2 separate regions of the Homo sapiens genome follow, and region 2 is linked to region 1. Evidence: promoter capture Hi-C in human tissues and cell types (Jung and others, 2019). All regions are on one chromosome and are shown on one strand. The core of a region is centred on a gene start or on the middle of the fragment in contact, and the rest is flanking DNA. Distances in the headings are between cores, read along the strand shown. Region 1 holds the start of IGFL2 (IGF like family member 2). Region 2 has its middle 25 kb from the start of IGFL3.

What was found. The method cuts DNA at HindIII sites, captures the fragments that hold promoters and counts their contacts. A contact is called where the count stands out against the background at its distance.
Region 2: a contact is called between a fragment that was not itself captured here and the fragment with the promoter of IGFL2 in region 1, in 4 of the 25 tissues and cell types used here (H1 embryonic stem cells, dorsolateral prefrontal cortex, mesenchymal stem cells and 1 more).

Annotation. Positions count from the first base shown.
Region 1 is chr19:46,146,176-46,151,040 of GRCh38, reverse strand. It overlaps IGFL2 (IGF like family member 2), which reads right to left and starts at 2,803. Exons shown (of 4, transcript NM_001135113.2): 1 at 2,744-2,803. The coding sequence starts at 2,762. The HindIII fragment of the contact is 7,392 bases long and covers 1,052-4,865 here.
Region 2 is chr19:46,097,743-46,102,607 of GRCh38, reverse strand. It overlaps a transcript of IGFL2 not described here. Among named protein-coding and RNA genes, the nearest start is that of IGFL3, 25 kb to the left of the region's middle. The HindIII fragment of the contact is 4,115 bases long and covers 507-4,621 here.

The DNA.
Region 1 (4,865 bases), core at 1,554-4,053:
CAGTTAGACAGGAAAGATAGGTTTTAGAGATCCACTGCAGGGCACGGTGACTATAATAAATAATAGTGTATTGTGGGCTGGACGTGATGGCTCATACCTGCAATCCCAGCACTTTGGGAGGCCAAGGAGGAGGGTTGCTTGAGCCTACAAGTTGGAGACCGGCCTGGGCAACACAGTGAGACATCGTCTCTATGAAAAACAAAATTAGCATGGTGTGGTGGTGCGTGCCTGTGGTCTCAGCTACTTGGGAGCTGAGGTGGAAGGATCACTTGAGCCTCAGAGGTAGAGGGTGCAGTGAGCTGTGATCACACCACTGCACTCCAGACTGGGCATCAGAGTGAGACCCTGCCTCTTAAAAAAACAAATGGTGTGTTGTATATTTCAAAATTGCTGAAGAGTATATTTTAAATGTTCTAGTGACAAAAAGTAATAAGTATATTAGGTGGTAGATATGGTAATTAATTTGATTTATCATTTAACAAGGCAAACATACATTAAATCATCATATTTTACCCCATAAATATACACAATTATTCTTTGTCAACTTCTTAAAAAGATTCCTAGCAGAAAACATACAAGTAAGTCTTAATGACCTCGAGTTAGGTAATATTTTCTTAGATATTACACCAAAAGCACAAGAGAGAAAAGAAAGAATAGACTTCATCAAAAATTAAAAACCTATGCACTGCAAGCAATAGCATCAAGGAAATGAACACAATCCACATAATGAGGAAAGTATTTGCAAATTATATATATGATAAGGGATGAGTATCCAGCATATCTTCTAAAACTCTTACAACTAAATAATAATAAAATAAATAACCCAATTTAAACATGGAAAAATCTGAATAAACCTTTTCTCAAAAAGGAATACAAATGGCCAATAAGCACATGGAAAAGACACTCAGCATTGTTATTTACCAAGGAAACGCAAATTAAAACTACACAGGATATCACACCCACCCACCCAGATGACTGTAATAAACAGGAAAATAGAAAATAACAAAGGTTGAAGAATCTGGAGAGAAATGTGAGCCCTCATACACTGCTGGTGGGAATGTAATTGATGCAGCTCTGTGGAAAACAGTTTGCCAATTCCTCAAAAAGTTAAACAGAATTACCATGTGGCGTAGCAATTCCACTCCTATGTGTACACCCAAGATAACTGAAAACAGGTTCTCAAGCAAATACATGTATACATATGTTTGTAACAGCACTATTCACAATAGCCAAATGGTGGAAACAGCCCAAGTGTCCATCAACAGATGAATGGATAAATGAATGCTGATACATGGATACAATTGAATTTATTCAGTTGTAAAAAGGAATGAAGTACTAATAAATTCTATAATGGGGATATGCCTTGAAAACATTAAGTTAAAAAAAAAGTTACACGAAAGGTCACTTATAAATGGTGTGATTCCATTTATATGAAATGTCCCAGATAGGTAAATCCATAGAGACAGAAAGCTGACTGGTGGTTGCCAAGGGTGAGGGTAGAGGGGAAAGAGAGGAACAGCTAAATGGGCATGCGGTGGTCGGGGGCTATGGAGCCAGGTGACTCGGAGGTAAAAAGCAATTCTGGAAGATGACTGAGCTACTCTTCCTTCAACTTGAGAGAGGAAGGAAGAGAAGGAAGGAGAGGAGGGAAAAGACAGGGAGGGGAGAGGGGAAGAGAAGAGAGGGGGATGTGAGACAGAGGGACACAGGGAGATGGGGAGGGGAGGGGGAGGGGGAGAGGGGAAGAGGGGGAGAGGTGGAAAGGGTGAGGGGTGAGTGGGAAAGAGAAAGAGAGAGAGAGAGAAAAGGGAGAGAGAGAAAAGAGAGGGAGAGAGAAAGAGAGGGAGAGAGAAAGAGAGAGAGAAGAGAGAGAGAGAGAAGAGAGAGAGGGAGAGAGAGAGATGGTTGCCCAAAAAGAAGTTAGTGAACACAGCAGGCATTGCTCATCTTGATGGAATACACACAACAAAACTCAGTCCACTGCCTGGGCTGCCCTTACTTACCCAGCACACTCCTGGGGTAGTCGGTCCTCATGCCTGAGACACTGAACCTCATGATTTCCTGGCGCTGAGAGCCCAGGAACTCCAGGCAATAGTGCCTGGGCTACAGGGCTGGGTCTGGTTCGAGGGCAGGATGATCCCCTCATCACAGTCCCAACAGATTGCAGATCTAGTCTCCACTCCTGAGTGTCAACTGGCACAACCACAGTCCAATATCTGGAAGAGTCAGAGCTGATGAGCTGGCAGGGGACCTCTGGGAGCCCCCAACCCTATCCACAGTGCTATAATCCTCCCTCCTTTCTTCTCCCTCCACTCACCACACCCATTCTCACCTATGGTCCCTTCTGAGTCTGAGCCCAGGAGTTCAAAAATAAAGATCAGCTGAGAGAAGAATGACAGTGATTCTGGGGTCACCAGATCATGATCATGGGGCACAAGATGATGTCTCTGAGTTTCTTTGGTTGCTGTAACAGCTCAGAGCAGATTTTGGGACTGACTCTGTGTGCAGGTTCTGGGCATTGGGCTTGGCAGGTGAGGAAATGCAGGGAGGGCTCTGGAAAGGGTTAAGCTTCTGGAATTTGCAGGTGGGGAAGAGAGATTGCAATGCAGTCAGAGAGGACACGGGTGATTATGAGGTGGGAAACCAAGAATTAAATAGGGAAGAGAGAATTAAGTTTGAGGTTCAGAGGTACATTAGGGATAACAGTAGGCATTAGCTCAACCTGGGGCAAGGGTTACCTTACCGAAGATTCTGGGCACCATGGAGCTTCAGAGCAGCTGATGGGACAGCAGCAGTGCAAATGGGTCAGTGACTTTATACAGGGACTTATGTAGGCTATGAACTTATCCACATTTAGGGAGGTGCCCAGAAGCACTGGCCTCTTGGAAAGGGTGGGGCATGAGAAGCCACAGAAAGCATAAGAAAAAACTGCATCAACAGCTTAGTAAGATGTTCCTGGACCTGTTCCAAGTGACTGCTACCTTCTCAGACCTCTCGAAATCTCAGAGTAAAGGCTTCCCTAGAACCTTTCAAAGCCGTGAGTGAGTGTCATTCTTTGAACTCTGCCCACGGCAAAGAGACTTGAAAGAGATTCCTTGGCTCTCACTTATCTGAGAGCATACTACTCACCAAACATCACAGCTGGTGATGAAACTTCATATTCATCCACCCTGAAGTTTCAAGGGGTCCCTCTACTCCCCATCTCAGTCCGGCTCCAGACCTGCACTATGAGAAACAAACGCACCCGTCCAAACCCAAAGAATGGACTCAGAGACACAGAAAACAGTGGAAGCAAGACTTTTAATGATGGTCTTGCAAGATTGAATGTCTGGTAGGCAGGCACACCCAGTACGGTTACAACAAGCTATTTATCCCCTAGTGCACAAGTCTCTCCCCTGGTTCCTCGTAGGCTAAGTACGATGGGGTCACGATCTTCCCAGACGTCGCCTATTGGTTGCTGGGTTGAGGCTTTTAGGTGTTTTCTTTAGGATTGTCTCACTGCATTTTGTTGCAGCCTATAATACATTGCAATCAAAGCCAGCTCGAGGGCTTTTCAAGTATTTGACTTATGACCTAGGCAGTCAGGCAAGCTGATAAGAATAGATAAAGTGAGCTATTTTGCTGGCTAGTAAACTTTCATTCTAGACTAAACTCTGGTTTGGGAGAGGGTAACTAAGGGGACCCCGACAAGCATGCACCAGCTATGGGCCTAGTATATTCTGTCCTTCCATAGTTTGTGGGCCTCAGCCTATCTGAGGTACTTTGTCTTGGAAATGGACCACCATATCCATTATTATAATTGTAGACAGCACTGTCTATAATTCTTCAGAGTCATTTAGGGGAAACTGTGAAGATGCAGCATAATCTAGAAAAAGAGCAGGGGCTGTAAAAACCCTGCCAGGGAGAACAGAAAAGGAACAGACAGTGATAAAATAGACATCTGGGATTCATAGAATAGATGGAAAGGCAGCCCCTTTTTGTTGTTGTTTCTGGAGTGCTTTGTCCAAGGAAACGCTCCTTCTGTGTTTCTTACTGTTATTTTATTGTCACCATCACTATTATTTGTGTCACTGGATACCATGTGGGCTATTATTAGAATGCGCTCCTGTGTTTTCCATTGACTTCCTTCCCATCCCACAGTGAGATAGGTGGGAGGGTGAGACAGAGATCAGGAGAGGTGTTAGGGCTTTATAAAAGTGCATTGTTAGTAGAAGAGTTCTGGACCTGATAAGTGAATTTAGAAAGGTTGTAGCGTATGAAACACACAGAAGTCAATTGTATTCCTTTATACTGGCAAGAACTAGTGGATACAATAATTTAAAGAAAAAAAATGCCATTTACAATACCCCCCTCCCCAAAAACTGAACTGGTATACTGTAAATCTAGGAGAACATATAAAGGATGTGTACGATTAAAGTATTCAAGGAAACCTTAAATACAGAGTGGTATATCATGTCGTGGTTTGGAATCTGTAATTTAGGTAAGATGCCAATTCTTTCCAAATTATCTACAGATTTAACACAATTCCAATCAAACCCAAGCAGGATTTGTCTGAGAGAGAAACAAAATAACTCTAGAATTTATATAGAAAAGCAATGGAAACTAGAATGGCCAACACAATTTTGGATGAGGAAAGATGGTAGAGGACTCACACTATCCAATTTCACAATTACTCAAGCTACAGTAATGACAACAGTGTAGTATTGGCAAATGGATAGACATGGATAGACACATAGATCAAAGGAACAGAATAGGTTCCAGAAATAAACCCAAACAAATATAGTAAATTGTCTTTTGGCAAAGATGTAAAGGCAATTCAATGGGGGAAAAGATAGTCATTTCAACAAATGGTGTGAGACAATGGG
Region 2 (4,865 bases), core at 1,315-3,814, 48 kb after region 1:
TGTTCCTGCCCCACCCTAACTGATCAATTGACTTTGTGACAATACACCCTCCCCGCCCTCGCAATAATGTACTTTGTGATATTCCCTTGCCTTTGTGAATGTACTTTGTACTATACACCCTCCCCACCATTAAGAAGGTACTTTGTAATATTCTCCCCCACACTTAAGAAGGTACTTTGTAATATTCTCCACATCCTTGAGAATATACTTTGTAAGATCCACCCGCTGCCCGCAACAAAATTGCTCCTAACTCCACCGCCTATCCCAAACGTATAAGAACTAATGACAATCCCACCACCCTTTGCTGACTCTCTTTTCGGACTCAGGCTGCCTGCACCCAGGTGATTAAAAAGCTTTATTGCTTACACAAAGCCTGTTTGGTGATCTCTTCACACAGACGCGCGCATGAAATTAGCTACAGAAAAACAGGACCTCATAAAACTTGCAGAGTGGGTACAATCACACACTGGAGGGGGTTCAAAGGGACTTTTACTTATGCTAAAGACACAGGGAAAATTTACTTCTTTGTTACCCCTGGGAAAGTCTCCAGAGCACATTCCTTCCAGCTCCAGCCACTTAGATAATGTTATCAGGTCCTCACCTGGGTCCAGGCTATGCCTGTTACTGCCCTTGGGATGTGTCAGCATAGTACAGAAAGCTTGCCTTTTTTAAACTTATTTTTCTCTCTCTAACGTTCTCTCTTTATTTGCCCACCTCAATGTTACCTAGCCTTGGAAACTGCTTTTTTCATGGATGTGCAACCTGTGAATCAGGAGATCTCACTCATGAGCCCACACCACCAGGGCCTTAGGTCCCAACCACAGAGCTGCACAGTCTCAACAGCGGTTGGGCCGGAGTCTGCCTAAGACTACCGAGTTCTGGGGAGGAGGGCCAGCCATCATCACTGCAACTGCAGCTGCCTGCTGCTTACGACGTCTGAGCTCCCATCACTGCGGCTGCCTAAAAGGCTGAACCCCCACTGGGGAAGGGCAACAGCCATCACTACAGCTCGGGGCTGCCGTTTTTCCCCTGCTGGTGCCAGGGAGATTGGATGTCTTGGACCCAGAAGGTATTCCCCACAGTGGAGCACACCAGTTGTGGCAGATTGTGGACTCTGCCTCTTTAGGCTGGACCCTGACCCATCCCTCCTCACTGGGCGAGGCCTCCCTGCAGGAACTTCAGCTACCCCAGCCAGGGCCTTAGGGAAAAGATTCTGATCTCCCTGAGCCTGAGCCCCTAGTGGGAGGGGTGGCCATGGCCTTCACAAACCAGCAGACTTACTTTCCTCCACTAGCTCTGAGGAATCCAGGCAGCCCAGATGAGTGGGTTTCCCCCCAGCACAGCACATCCCCTCCACCAAGGGACAACTAGAGTGTTTCATTAAGTGGGTCCCGGATCCTGTGCCCCGCGACTGGGTGAGACCCCCACCAACCAGGGGTCACCAGACACCTTATACAGAAGCGTTCCTACCAGCATCAGGTCAGTGCCCCTCGAGGACAGAGATCCCAGAGGAAGGAGCAGGCATCCATCTTTGCTGTTCTCCAGCTTCCTCGGGTGACATCTCCAGCTGCAGAAGGGACCCAGGTGAATAGGGCCTGAAGTGAACCCTCAGCAAACTGCAGCAGTCCTACAGAAGAGGGGCCTGACTGTTAAAGAAAAACAAACTAACAGAAAGCAACAACAGCATCAACAAAGAAGTCACCACAAAAACTTCATCCAAAGGTCAGCAGCCTCAAACTAGACAAACTTATGAAGATGAGAAAGAATGAATGAAAAAAAACACTGAAAGGAAATTAAATTTTGGGACCCCAAATGCATCTGGCTAAAAGGAAGAGTCAAGCTGGGAACTGGGTCATGCAAACTTGCCTCCCACTTTCAGTTCCTAAATAAGATGGCTACAAGATGAAAAGCTACATGCCTCCCCCATATTTGCCCACAAGGATATTCCTAGTGAATGGTTAAAACTTCACCATGGCAATGCAAATTGATAGCTTATCTTTCCAGGTGCTGTCATCCTGGCCCACAGACACTAATGCATATCTGATTGTTTCCCTACCACATTCTGTTTGTGTTATCTTATGTAAAATGCTGATTCCCCACATTTTTCCTCTGCCCCTTTTATGTCCTTGTATGTAAAAATGCAGATTCACTTGCATGAAAACTGTATACTTCTCAATATCCCACCCTTTCCCCTTTAAATTTGGAGCCCTTAAAATCATCTTCAGAGAAAGGCATAGACCTGTTTCCCGGGTGCATCCTTAACTTTGGCAAATAAATCTCCTAAAATGATTGAGACTTTTCTTGTCATTTTCCTTGATTAACAGTCAGCAGCCTCAAAGATTGAAACTAGACAAACTCATATAGATGAGAAAGAATCAATGAAAAAACGCTGAAAACTGAAAAGGCCAGAGTGCCTCTCCTCCTCCAAATGATCACAACTCCTCTCCAGCAAGGGTACAGAACTGGGTGGAGGCTGAGATGGATGAGTTGACAGAAGGCTTCAGAAAGTAGGTAATAAACTTTGCTAAGCTAAAGGAGCATGTTTAACCCAATGCAAAGAAGCCAAGAACCATGATAAAGGGTCATAGGAGCTGCTAACTAGAATAACCAGTTTAGAGAGGAACATAAATGACCCGATGGAGCTGAAGAACACAGCACAAGAACTTCGTGATGCGAACACAGGTATCAAGCAGAAGGATAAATATCAGAGCTTGAATACTATCTTGCTGAAATAAGGCAAGCAGACAAGACTGAGAAAAAAAGAATGAAAAGGAATGAACAAGCACAGGCTCGGTGACTCATCCCTGTAATCCCAGCACTTTGGAAGGCTGAGGCAGGTGGATCACGAGGTCAGGAGTTCAAGACCAGCCTGGATAAGATGGTGAAACCCCGTTTCTACTAAAAATACAAAAATTAGCCAGGCGCAGTGGCAGGCGCCTGTAATACCAGCTACTTGGGAGGCTAAGGCAGGAGATCACTTGAACTCGGGGGGCAGAGGTTGCAGTGAGCTGAGATTGTGCCACTGCACTCCAGCCTGGGTGACAGAGTGAGACTCCGTCTCAAAAAAAAAAAAAGAAAGAAAGAAAAAGAGCAAACAAAACCTCCGAGAACTATGAGACTATGTAAAAAGACCAAACCTATGACTGATAGGAGTACATGAAAGAGATGGGGAGAAAGGAACCAAGTTGAAAAACACACTTCAGGCTATCATCCAGAAGAACTTCCCCAACCCAGCAAGAGAGGCCAACATTCAAATTCAGGAAATCCAGAAAATCCCAGTAGGATACTCCATGAGAAGATCAACCCAAAGACACATAATCATCAGATTCTCCAAGAATGTAATGAAGGAAAAAATGTTAAAACAGCCAGAGAGAAAGGCCAGGTCACCTACAAAGGGAAGCCCATCAGACTAACAGTGGACCTCTCAGCAGAAACCCTACAAGCCAGAAGAGAGTGGAGGCCAATATTCATCATTCTTAAAGAAAATAATTTCCAACCCAGAATTTCATATTTGGCTAAACTAAGCTTCATAAGCAAAGGAGAAATAAAATCCTTTTCAGACAAGCAAATGCTGAGAGAATTCATCACCACCAGGCCTGCCTTGCAAGAGCTCCTGAAGGAAGCACTAAATATGGAAAGGAAAAACCACTATCAGCCACTGCAAAGACATGCTGAAGTACAAAGACCAACGACACTATGAAGAAACTGCATCAACTAGTCTGCAAAATAACCAGCTAGCATCATGATGACAGGATCAAACACACATAACAATATTAACCTTAAATGTAAATGGGCTAAATGCTCCAATTAAAAGACACAGATTGGGCCTGGCACAGTGGTTCATGCATGTTGTGTAATCCCAGTACTTTGGGAGGCCGAGGCGGGTGGATCACCTGAGGTCAGAAGTTCGAGACCAGCCTGACCAATATGGTGAAACCACATATCTACTAAAAATACAAAAATTAGCCAGGCATGGTGGCATGCACCTGTAGTCCCAGCTACTTGGGAGGCTGACGCAGGAGAATCACTTGAATCCAAGAGGCAGAAGTGCAGTGAGCTGAGATCATACCACTGCACTCCAGCCTGGGTGGCAGAACGAGACTCCATCTCAAAAAAAAAAAAAAAAAAAGACACAGATTGGCAATGTGGATAAAGAGTCAAGACCCATTGGTGTGCTGTATTCAAGATTCAAGAAGCCCATCTCCATGCAATGATACACATAGGCTCAAAATAAAGGGATGAAGGAAAATTTACCAAGCAAATGAAAAGCAGGAAAAAGCAGGGGTTGCAATCCTAGTTTCTGACAAAACAGACTTTAAACCAGCAAGGTTCAAAAAAGACAAAGAAGGGCATTACATAATCGTAAAGGGATCAATACAGCAAGAAAAGCTAACAATCCTAAATATATATGCACCCAATACAAGAGCACCCAAATTCATAAAACAAGCTCTTAGAGACCTACAAAGAGACTTAGACTCCCACACAATAATAGCGGGAGACTTTAACACCCACTGTCAATATCAGACTATCATTAAGACAGTAAATTAACAAGGGTATTCAGGACTTGAACTCAGCTCTGCATCAGGTGGACCTGATAGATATCTACAGAACTCTCTACCCCAAAACAACAGAATAAGCATTCTTCTCAGTGCCACATGGCACTTACTCAAAAACTGATCTCATAATTGGAAGTAAAACACTCTTTAGCAAATGCAAAGGAACTGAAATCACAACAGTCTCTCAGACCACAGTGCAATCAAATTAGAACTCAAGGTTTAAAAACTCACTCAAAACCACATAACTACATGAAAATTCAACAACCTTCTCCTGAATGACTCCTGGGTAAACAATGAAATTAAGACAGA